3 separate regions of the Homo sapiens genome follow, and all the other regions are linked to region 2. The links are contacts of gene promoters, found by promoter capture Hi-C in human tissues and cell types (Jung and others, 2019). All regions are on one chromosome and are shown on one strand. The core of a region is centred on a gene start or on the middle of the fragment in contact, and the rest is flanking DNA. Distances in the headings are between cores, read along the strand shown.

Region 1 (3,985 bases), core at 1,261-3,760, 130 kb before region 2:
CTTCACATGAGCACCAGAGCAGGAAATCGCCATATTTTAAAGCCCATTTCCCCATTTTAAGATCAGGTGCCTAAGATAACCTACCTGGTACAATGCCTGGGACACAGAAAGCTCTCAGTAAATGCCTGACATCACTTCCTTTTCTGGTGAGCTTGAATGGAAGAGTTCAGACTTCAATTCCACAATAATTGGCTTAATTCACAGTAGGGGAGGCAGCTCCTCTGAGTTCACTATACATACCTCAAAGGTCAGCGTGAGAATGTTGAAAAGTGTTTCCCAGATCTGGCCAGAACTCTCAATCTCTCAAGAAAGTAAATAGACGTCTTTTGGGTCTGTGGGGACGATCTGCATCCTAGCTGATAGATGCCTTCCCTACAGGCTCCATATTACCCCTACTAAACAAAGAGGATGGGGAGAGAGACAAGAGGCTGGGCTGGGAGACCTGGCTTGTGGCCATGTTTCAGCACGTGAGACTTTCCAAACACTTGCTTCTGGGTGCCATGAACAATGAAACAGATGCATTCAAAGAAATGGCCATGCACTTAAACACATGATAATTTTTTTAAAATTTCACATCTACTTTTTAAGCCCTTAAAGACTATATCATCAATGTTTATTTGACTGATGCATCTTATTATTGCATGGGGAAAAGTGAACCATCACTGAAGGAAATCGGAAGCCAAGGGTTCTTTCGTTGAGATAAAATATAAGATTGATCGTAAAATTAACAAATTAAATTAACAAATTAAGAAATAATACTGGTATAAGTCAATGTACCAAATCACTTCCCTCTGTCACGTCTTACTCTGCCTCTTGAGCATAAAATCATCAGGGCTGTAACACTCAGTGAAATATGGCAAGGATGAGAGGACAGGGCTCTGGGCCACCTGTCACCTGCCTGTCCTGGCTGGGCTGCTGAGAGGAACCCCAGTTATCATGTGAGGCCTGCCCTGACACCCTAGAGTAGTGGGCACAGGACACTTTGGCATGCCTTACAAGTTCTGTTCCTGTACTTCTAATCTTTCTTATCCATCTCCACAACTTCAAATGACAGGTGAACCATTGAGAAAACATGGTTAGGAAAAGGTAAATACAATCTTTTAAATATTCCTCTTTTTAATTCTTCCTCCCTGACCCAAACTTCAGTCCCAAATATGAAAATACGAGACTACACTTAATGAACATTTGTGCCAGGCACTGTGTCAGGCACTTTTTGTATGCCATCCTTTAATACAGCAATTGTATTATTTTATTTTATTTTACTTTGAGTTCTGGGATATGTGTGTGGAATGTACAGGTTTGTTATATAGTTATACATATGCCATGGTGATTTGCTGCACCTATCAACCCATCATCTAGGTTTAAAGCCCCACATGCATTAGGTCCTAATGCTCTCCCTCCCCTTGCCTCCCTCAACCAACAGGCCTTGGTGTATGATGTTCCCCTCCCTGTGTCCATGTGTTCTCATTGTTCAACTCCCACTTATGAGTGAGAACATGTGGTATTTGGTTTTCTGTTCCTGTGTTAGTATGCTGAGAATGATGGTTTCTAGCTTCATCCATGCCCCTGCAAAGGACATGAGCTCATTATTTTTTATGGCTGCATAGTATTCCATGTTGTATATATGCCACATTTTCTTTATCTAGTCTACCATTGATGGGCATTTGGGTGTGTTCCAAGTCTTTGCTATTATAAATAGTGCTGCAATAAACATACATGTGCATGTGTCTTTATGGTAGAATGATTTATAATCCTTTGGGTATATACCCAGTAATGTGATCGTACAGCAATTGTATTAGGTCATACTATTATTATCCCTGTTTTATAGATGAGGAAACAGAGGACCAGAGAGCCTAGGTTACTGTCCTAAAGATGACAAAGCTAGAGAGGGCAGAGGTGGCTTGGAAGTAGGGCCTTCCCTCTAAGCCCATGCTGTTAACAATTGCACTGACTGCCTGTCTCCAGGATCTCTGACATCTTGGTGCTGCGATAGAGCTTGGCTCTGGTGCTGCCCATATAACCCGCAGAATCAGCTGGTAGTTGATGCTCACAGGTTAGAGTTGTCAGACTCTCGTTATTTCTATCTGGGAACGATAGCACCATGGCCTTGAAAATGGGTCTTTATATAGTACATGCCCCTTGAATATTAAATTACCCAACAGAAAAATGGAGGATTCTGATTTATTGGGTAAAAAGTCATCAAGATTTTACAGTATTGTTTTAATACCTTGGTTCTCTTTTATCTTAGCTTCTATCCTTTTTTTTTTCTTTTCTCTGACTTCTCTAATCTCAAACTTTAGGCAGGGTTTATGCTTTTTAGTTCCTTCTCCCTCTTTTTTCATGTAGCTCACATTTGGGCTGCTCTGGCAATCTGGGTATCCCATGTAGGATGACCTGATAGCAACAAGAGCTACCATTTTTGAGCATCAAATACACACTGGGTATTCTAACGAGATTATTTTGCTTAATCCTTACTACAATGCTGACTAGGAGAGTGGGCTGGATCAGACTGAAAAGCTTTGACAGAGCTCACAGAAGTAGCAGGTCTGAGACTCAAAATACCTCTCACTTTATACCTCTTTCCCTTGGCCACAGTGCATTCCTTCTTGTGAACAAGGAAGCTGACTTTCTTCTTCCTTCTTGTTGAATATCTGTCTGGTTGAGGAATCAGGAATCCTTCCCTGCTTCCTTCTTCAATTAGATAGCTATTGCCTCTCCTGCCAGCCAAAGGAAGTAGGGATGTTTTGGTAATTTGGACAACCTTGGGAATATATGTATTTTTAAGCCTGGACATCGCATCATGGCTGGAGACGTAGGGTGGGGTAAGTCTGACGTTTATGGGAGCCCCAAGTTTGACCCTATAACATCTGCAGTGCAGGGCTAGCCAGATAGAGGCCATGGGGCTATTCTGGGGGCTAGATGAGGCCCAGTGTGCTGTGGGCTTTCAGAGCTGTGGCCTTTCGGGCTAAAACAAGAACTTTCCCATTTAGCTAATTGAACACCTTTGCTACACACTGTAATGCACACAGCAGGGGAGAACACCTCATCTGATGCGCACATGAATTTAAAAGGGAAAATGATGACAGAGGGTTTAATGGAGCGGACAGTGCCGCAGTCTAGCAGCAATTCCAAAGCCTGGGCCTAATGAAAGCTCTCAGCCAACATAGAAAGTGCCTGTGATTCAGCTCTCTGTTCCCATTTCCCCTGAGGTACTGGGGCTTCCATTAAATGCTGATGTGTCCTGATTATTACAGAGTGTGGAGAGAGAAAGGAAGGGCAGGAAGGCTGAAAGAGAACCTTTACACCTGACCTATCTGTTCTTGAAGATACTGCTTATTTATTTCTGAACCAGTAGCCAATTCCCACTATGGGTCAGAAGGCCTAGGCTTGAGAACGGGTGTTAGGTCAAGAAGAGCCAAATTTTCTCGAACTCCTGGCTTTAGGCAATTCTCCTGCCTCAGCCTCCCAAAGCACTGGGTTTACAGGTGTGAGGCACTGCACCCGGCCAAGCCAACTCTAAATACCTATTTTCAGCTCTTACAGGCACTGATTTTTGAGGCAAGGGCATTTCCTTCTCAGTTTGTTGCTCTTCCTCCTCCCTTGTTCTAGTGGACTGCTCTTTGCCATGGGGGAGACACAGATGGCCCAGAAGTTCCTGAATGGAGTGGTGGCAGGGAAGGTGCTGGTGTGACCACAGCCAAGCACTCTGCCTCCTAAGGTCTTGTCAGCATTGGGTGAGGTCCATTCATGTTGGGAACCTTCAGATGTTAGCAACCATCTGTCTCCGGGGAAAATTTCAACTCTGATAGCAGTGATATGAAGAGAAAGCACCATCATTATTCCACACTGGTACAAAAGCTAGGTCTCAGCAGGCTGAGTGGACTCCACTGTCCACCAAAAACTCCTGGCCACAGCCCATGTCTTAACTCACTAGCCCTTAGAGCAATCCAATCCCTTATTCCAGTGTCTAACTTCACAAGAATCC
Region 2 (3,786 bases), core at 423-2,922:
TGAAGGGATTAGGTTCAGCGGGAGAGGAGACCATCACGGCATCCCGGTCTCATCTCCTTAAGGCTCTCATGAGCCTTAAAAGACGCCTCATCTCCTCGGTCCCCCGGGGAGCGCCCGGTAGCTGCGGCTCCTTCCCGGCACTGCGGCGCACTGCGGAGCCGCCTGCCCGCCAGCCCAGGCCGTGCGGGGCTTTCCTCGCCGCCCCGCGCCGCCGCAGTCCTCCCGCCCCCCTCTGCCCCGCCGGGTCGCCGCTCTCCGCGCCAGGCGCGCCGCGGGGCATCCATCAACCCAGAGCTTTTGACGCACACACGCGCGCTCCCAGACGGAGACTCCGTCGCCTGCCCCCGCCCGCCACCCCCGCCCGCCCCTCGCGGGTCTGCATTTGCATCACTCGCACACGTAGAAGGTGACGCGAGCGCCCCCAGCTCAGGCCGTCCAGGCGGCACCTCTAGCCCCCGTGGCTCAGCCCCTCCCCCCGCCCCCGCGCGCCGCCTAAGGTCCCCGCACGCCCACAGATCTGCTCCCGATTGTTCATCTGCCGTGGGGTGCTGGCTGCCCCAAGCCAAGTTCATCCCCGTATTCCGCAGTCCCCGTGGGCCCAGCCCGGGGCGCTCCCCGCGACGCTCTGGAGAAAAGTCTTCCCAGTTCTAGAACCCAGGCGGAAGGGGAAAAGCCCACTAAGAGAAAGGGTCAGAGGGTCGGCTGATGGCTTTTGCTGCCCTCATCGCCATCTAAGATTACCTCGGTAGCTTATTTACTGCGATTGGTCCCTCTCCCCTCTGAGCTTCACAGCCTCGGGTCTGCTTCGCCTGGCCTGGCGCACAGCAGGCGCCCAAAAGGTTTTTGCTGAATGAAGGCGTTGTAACGTAGGAAGTGCAGGCGCTGACAAAGAGCCTCAGCCCCGCGGGCTCCCCTGCTCTCCAGCCCTCTCTTGCTCTCTCTTAGACGCCAGACAGGCGCTTCGGGAATGTATGTGGGAGAGTTTGAAAATTCATGGTGTTTCTTTCAGGCTCTCTCAGCACTTACTGCGGCTACCTCTGCTCTCCCGCCACCTGCACGTCTGCAGAGGGATCCCCGCCGAAAAGTTGAGCCTAAGGCAGCTATGAAGGTATAGGTCCAGGTACCCAGCCCGGGGCTCTAGGCTGCTAGATTTGAATCTGCCTATCCCTGCCGGTCAAACCACACAAGCAAAAAAGAGCGTGGCGGTCGCTGCAGATGCGGCCCCTGCATCCCCGCTGCTGCCCACCCACCTCCTCTGGGAATCCCAGATAAAGTGCGACCCAGTCCCCAGACCTACCCTAGCGAACCCTGGGGTCACTGCATCTATTTTACCCCTACTTTCCTGGTCCCTCTCCAACAAAGGCGCCTACAAAGCAGCGGGCACCTGCAGCCGCTTCCCCGGGGGCAGGCGGGGCAAAGTTGCGCTTCCGAAAGGCTGCAAAAACTTCCCCAGGCTGCAGCGCCCGGCCACCAGTCGGGAAGAGAAATCCAGCAGCGGGGGAAAGTCTCCCCGCGGATGCCCGCTTCACCTCCCCCACTCACCGCTCCAGCCGTCGGACACCCTTGCCCTGAGTGGTGTCAGCACTGCAGCCGCCTCAGTGCGGGCGCCGCTCCGGCTCGCTTCCCCGGGCTGCCTCCGTCTGCCACTCTCGCCTGCAGCGCGCGGAGTGGTGACTCCTCTGAGCGTGTCAGCGGCGAGAGGAGGGGCGGGAAAGTGGCTCCCGGCTTGCACGCTGCGGTCCTCCTCCTCTCCTCCGCCTGCCTCCTCCCCCTGGTGCTGCAGTGCCGGGCGGCGGCGTGGCGAGAGTACCAGCGGTGCGCAGGGAGTCACGGCGCGCGGGGGAGGCGGGACCCGCGCGCCACTCGCGGTGCTCCGGCAAGTCGCGGTGCTGAGGCGCTGCTGCGGTGTGGGACTGGGGCAGGGGGCGGGGAAGGAGAGCCACCTCCAAGTGGTAGGTACTTCTGGAGAAGTCAGGGCTCTGAGTTTGTAGCAGGTGAAGGAGAGGGGCGGCAGTCCTTAATTAGTCACCAACTGTGACTGTGCGTTGCGCACTTGGCGGCGCCCCGGGTCAGGTCCAGCGTGAGACGCGAGGGAGTTCTGACTGCTGGACTCTGTTAGCACCGGACAAAAAGAGGGTTTGTATTCTATTTCCGGGCCTGGGACTGACTTGTTCACTTCGACTTGGCTTCCAGGGAGCAACCAGGCAGAGCTAGGTTGCCTACTTCCCCCAGCCCCCACCCCGACGCTGGAAGACAAGTCCAGAGGAAACTTGGGCACAGCAAGAGCAAACAGAAGAAAACTTCGCTGGGTTAAGTCTACTGTCTCCCCAATGCTACATAGGGCCAGACAGCTGGGCTCACAGGCAGATATTGAAAGTGGCCCCTTAGAGGGGAAACAACCAAATATGAGGGGGGGGGGGTGGAGAGAGAGATAGAGAGAGAGAGAGGAGGAGGAGGAAGAAAGAAAGAAAGAAAGAAAAAGAGAAAGAAAGAAAGGAGGAGGAGGGAGAAAGAGAGAGGAGAGAAGAGAGAGAGAGAGGGAGAGAGAGAGAGAATTTTGCTTGTGTTGTTAGAAACAAACATTTCTCCCCTTGGCGTGCAGGAGAGAGAATTTTGCTTGTGTTGTCAGAAACAAACATTTCTCCCCTTGGCGTGCAGGAGACCCCAACTCGAGCTTCACTGTTCCAAAGCGGTGGGCCAGGCGGCTGGAGAGAAACTCGCTCCCGTGAGGCCACACCCAGGCCTGGCGCACCCACCCCGCGGCAGCAGTGGAGGGCGTCGCCCTCCCGGGCCTTCCGACGCAGACCCTGCCATCCGGATGCTGCGGGAAGTAGGGCATCCTCACGTCCCTGACTCCTCCGGCTCCGCGCGCTCACGGAACCCAAGTGGAGTGGGAAGCGGTCACACAGGCGTGTGCCGTCCCCGAAATCGTTGCTCCTGTGGTGGTGACCCAAAGCGAGACAAAGCGCCGCGCCAATACGGGCTGCAGTGATTGGAACTCAAACACACACATCTCTCCGCGAATGTGTTCCATCCGTGTAAATATGCCTGGGTGATTGAATGGATGGCTGAATGAACGCTGTGTGGATAGAAATATAAATGTTACATGTATAATACAGGCGCCGGGGAAGGAGAGCTGTCAGGCACCCCCAGGCTGGAGCCTCCTGCCCAGAGGAGCCGGTGGAGACAGGCGGTTCGCCCAGGGCGGTGTTGTTAGCTTGGGCTTTCCAGTTCGATTTGTGCCACTATGCAGGATACTGTGAAGAGAAGAAAATGGAGACAACTCTTGGCCTCTCATTTTCCCTCCTCTCTGGTTCAGACACTCTGGCACTAAAAGTTATGATTCTCATGTGCTGTTGAACCTACACTTCCTTGCTGGTCTGTCTTGTTCCGGTGAGAGGCTTTGCAGTCTGTGACCATGGTGCTATGAGATGGTCAGGCAATATGAAAATTAGTGAACGTGCTCATTTTCATTTCGTGGATTCTTCTTAGTAAAATAATTATTTAAATAGTTAAATAATTTAAATAGTTAAATAATTTAAATAATTATTTAGGCTAAAATTAATGTGCTGCTACTATGACAAGGAAGTGCCTATGAATCCAGCATTGGAAATACAATTGTGAAATTAAAAAATAAATCCTATCTGGATTCCCCGCATGTTATTTATAAAAATTTGAGCTTCCAACTGCAAAATGTGCTGGCAATTCACTGAGTTCTCAAACGGTTACCTTTTTGAGAACCTCCCCTAAACTGTTGCAGAATAATGGATTGTTTCTCCAAGTGAT
Region 3 (4,143 bases), core at 822-3,321, 240 kb after region 2:
TTTCTCTCTAATGTGGCTCTCACCATGTCAGTAAAAATTCTGAGGACTGAAGAAACCTGCTGCCTAGCCCCGCTCATTTCAGTATGTCCTACTGCCATGTAGGACATTGTTATTGACTGTGACCTAGAAAAATGGGTAAGAAAAGTAAGATCAGTGTCAAAAACAACAAATGAATGGGAACTGAATAGGAACTGTCAGAAAGAGTTGGGCATTCTAGAGGCTCCCTGCCTTGTCATGATCTCTCTCCAGGACTATATGAATTTTCTTTTATTGCATTTCTCCTTTTCTCTTCATTGTATTTCTACTCCGTAGATGTTTTGCTTTCTCATAGTTCCTGACTCTTTATAACCTGGACTTACCATGGCCTTGTCTATACTTCATGGTATTTTTTCATCTCTACCCACCACTTCTAACTAAAGTGTTCCTTTGTATTCCTTAGTTCAAATTTTTGAAAAGAGAAAATAATTAACCCAGTTCATCTTTTTGAGCCAGACCATGTTATAGATCACTGCCTAGCCTACGGGATGTGTGACAGTTTTTAAAAGGTACACAAAAATCTTTGACACTTCTCCCATCCAGAGACAGGGTTCATGTCTCCTCCCCTGGAATCTGGACTTTGTGAATACAATAGAAGTGGCAGTGTGCAGATTTCCAGGATTAGGCCTTAAGACACCAGCAGCTTGCTCTTGGAATCCGACCACCGGCTATGAAGAAGCCCAGGCCACACAAAGAGGCCAGGTAGGGGCTGTGGCTGACTGTTCCAGCGGAGGTCCCAGAAAACAGCCAGCATCAACCACCGGACATGTGTGAGTAAAGCTATCTGCAGAGGACAACAGTCCCCAGTCGATCACTCCCAGCCTTTGAGTCTTTCCAGCTGATGCATCAGATATCATGGAGCAGCGACAAGCCATGCTTATTGTGCCTGTCTGAATTCTTGATATACAGCATGTGTGGGCATAATAAAATGCATGCTTTATACCCTAAGTTCTGGGATAGTTTGTTATATAGCAGTAGACAATTGGAAAATATTTTGGTACCATAAGTCAATTACCTATAGCTGCGTCACAAAACTACACACTTCAGTGGTTTAAAACAATGATCTTTTTTTTTTTTTTTTTCCTGTTTCTGGGAGTCAAGGATTTGAGAAGCATTCAGCCAGGTAGTTCTGGTTCAGAGTCTGCCACATAGCTGTAGTCAAAGGCTGGAGCTGGAAGACTATAACTGCTGAAAGAGCTGGGGGCTGGCTAGGCACCTCTCTTTCCTCTGAGGTTTCAAGGGTTCTCGGCTCTCTGCAGGGTCTCTCCATGTACACTACTTTGGGCTTCATCCCAGGATGATGGCCTCAGATGACAGAAATTCTTACATGGTGGCCCAAGGTTCCAACGTGACTGTTCCAGTGAGCCAAGCAAAAGATGCATTGCCTTTTTTGACCTAGCCTTGTAAGTCACGTGGCATCACTTCCACCATACTCTTAGCAGTCAGCTGCTCACTAAACTCAGCTCAGATTCAAGGAGTTGGAGGAGATATATCCACCTTTCAAAGAGAGGAGTGTCAAAGAAATTTGTCAAAGTTTAGTTCTGGGCCAAAGCTCATACCTATTCTAATCAACTATGCCCAAGGCTGGTGGGATCATAGGTGCACCTGTGGCCTCTCTTCTGTTAGGGACTGGAAGCAGGGATAGCTCCCTTAGAAGGAACTACATTGGCCAGTTCAGAGCACTACATCCCTTGCCTGCCCAGAACCCAGGGTCCTTCTTCCTCTTCTTTATGTCCTACACACATCTGCATCCTGTTGACCCCATCTATTGAACATCTCTTAAACTCTCCACTGGCAGTTAATAGATGATTTTTATAGAAAATTTGGAGAACACAAAAAACTACAAGGAGAAAAAAATACCCTTCCTCCCACATACACAGTTCCAGAGCTGCCCACTCCCAACATGGCCTGTCTGACATTTACAACTATAAATATGCTCGTCATCTGCTAATAGAAAGACTTTCCAAAGTCATGACCAGTTATAGCGCCAGGAAAAATGTCAAGGACCACTTCAAAAGCTGCTTGCCTATCTCGGAGTCCAGAGTTTTCTGTGGTGTCTAGCCTATTTCTTTGTTCTCCTTTTTCCGTGCTCCCATTCAGAGCTACTTCTTACCATTTTATGGGCTCAAAATGACCACTGGTAAACATCAAAGCACCCTGAATACTACAAATGAAAAGTAAAGAATATTTATAATAACTATTTTTATTGGCATACAAAGGGAACATAAAATCTATCTTTTCATCCTGAAACTCAAGATTTACATATGTGTGATCAAGCAGTATTTACAAATTTGTAGTCTGCATTTTTCCCTTGTATTATAATTTTTGTTGTCATTATAATCTTTAAAATCATGAAAAGAAAATGTAAAGTGAAATATCTAATAGCTAAAGCAATATGTTCATTTTTCCTCATCACTTTACTATTAATAAAAAAATTATTTTTTAAGTTGAATTACCCAAATAAATTAACCCAATTATAACTTTACTAATCACTTCTTTTATTTCATTTTTCTCAATTAAAATAGAATTATTAATTAAAATAAATTTATGGGTAAGCTTGCTGGACTCAGTATAATTGTTTTTTCCTTGTTACCTTCTAAAATCCCACTAAAATAAAAGGAAAAGGAATTTAAAACTATAAATCCACAAAAAAGAGAAATAATGACAGCATATGAGAGATGTCAACAAAATCTAGAAACTGAAAAGCAATAAATGAGAAGTGGCCTCATAGACCAAAGAGAGATGAAGCTTGAGTCTATAATAGGATATCTAATAAGAAGTAAGCTAATTATACGCCAAACAGTTAAGAAGTTACAGAACCTTGAGAATTCTCAAGAATTGAATAAACTAGATATCACTGAGTCCAACAGTTTAAGCTGGTCTGAAAGCAAAAGGACTGTGACAATCTTTATAAGGAATAGATAGGACACCACTGAACTCCACCAGCCCATTCAGTCAGAGCATGAAGAACAACAGGTGCCTGAATACAGATGAATCTGGAGAGCATGATGCTAAATCAGGCACAGAATGACAAATACCACATGATTTCACTTATAGGAATCTAAAAAGTTGAGCTCATAGAAGCAGAGTAGAGCAGTAGTTACGAGGGGCTGGGAGTGTGGAGAGATAAGGGTTTAGAGAGATGTTGTTCAAAGAATATAAAATTTCAGTTAGGAAGAATGAGTTCAAGAGCTCTACTGTACAACATTGTGACTATAATAAATAACAATATATTGTATACTTGATTACTAATTTTAAGCAGATTTCAAGTGTTCTCATTGCACACAAAAATGCATATGAGAAATGCACATGTCAATTATCTAAATTTAGCCATTCCACAATGTACATGTATTTCAAAACACACTGTATACATAAATATATATCTTTATTTGTTAATTAAAAATTAATAATAATAATAATATTATATTGGTAGGCCTAGTCAGTATAAATATAAGAAAAATAAATTTAAGGCATTAGACTAGGAGCAAAAATCAGTGAGATAATAAAGCATTACCTTCATAAAAACAGAAGTCAATTAAAAAAGGGACATTTCGAGAAAAGAAGTTTTTAAAATTAAAGTACGGATATATACTTTTTAAATGAAATCCCACAATTAGAAGATAAAGTTAAGGAAATCTAGAAAGTAAAAGCAAAAAAGACAAAGAGATGGAAAATAGTGGTAGGAAAAAAAGAAAGTTAGAGGAAGTTCAGCATCCAGTTTAATTATTAAGAGTTCCAGGAAAAGAAAACAGAAGAAATGGGCAAGAGAATATCTTCAAAAAATAGCACGCACGTAAAAACATCCCAGACCTGAAGGACATGAGCGCCAGTTTGAAAAGGTCCACACAGTACACAGCAAAATGAATAAAAATGACTCTCACCAAGGCACATTATGGTAATACTTCAGCACGCAGGGGAGAAAGAAAAGACCTAAAATTTTCAGATAGAAGAAAATGGTTCGCATCAGTGTATCATTAGACATCTCAAAGTTACATTGTGTAGCATACTATAAGAACCATCATTCTCAGCAAAAAAACCAAACACCGCATGTTCTCACTCATAGGTGGGAATTGAACAATGAGAACACATGGACACAGGAAGGGGAAC

The links. Contacts are between HindIII fragments. The study calls those that stand out against the background at their distance.
Region 1: a contact is called between a fragment that was not itself captured here and the fragment with the promoter of SV2C in region 2, in 2 of the 25 tissues and cell types used here (H1 embryonic stem cells and thymus).
Region 3: a contact is called between a fragment that was not itself captured here and the fragment with the promoter of SV2C in region 2, in 1 of the 25 tissues and cell types used here (H1 embryonic stem cells).

What each region holds. Positions count from the first base shown.
Region 1 is chr5:76,216,037-76,220,021 of GRCh38, reverse strand. All of the region lies in intron 4 of SV2C (synaptic vesicle glycoprotein 2C), which reads right to left. Among named protein-coding and RNA genes, the nearest start is that of SV2C-AS2, 94 kb to the left of the region's middle. The HindIII fragment of the contact is 7,655 bases long and covers 1-3,985 here.
Region 2 is chr5:76,081,269-76,085,054 of GRCh38, reverse strand. SV2C (synaptic vesicle glycoprotein 2C) reads right to left here and starts at 1,672. Exons shown (of 13, transcript NM_014979.4): 1 at 1,543-1,672. SV2C-AS1 (SV2C antisense RNA 1) reads left to right here and starts at 1,638. Exons shown (of 2, transcript NR_183290.1): 1 at 1,638-2,136; 2 at 2,659-3,649. RefSeq lists an enhancer at 2,308-2,861. The HindIII fragment of the contact is 16,764 bases long and covers 1-3,786 here.
Region 3 is chr5:75,841,403-75,845,545 of GRCh38, reverse strand. No RefSeq gene overlaps it. Among named protein-coding and RNA genes, the nearest start is that of POC5, 130 kb to the right of the region's middle. The HindIII fragment of the contact is 5,307 bases long and covers 1-4,143 here.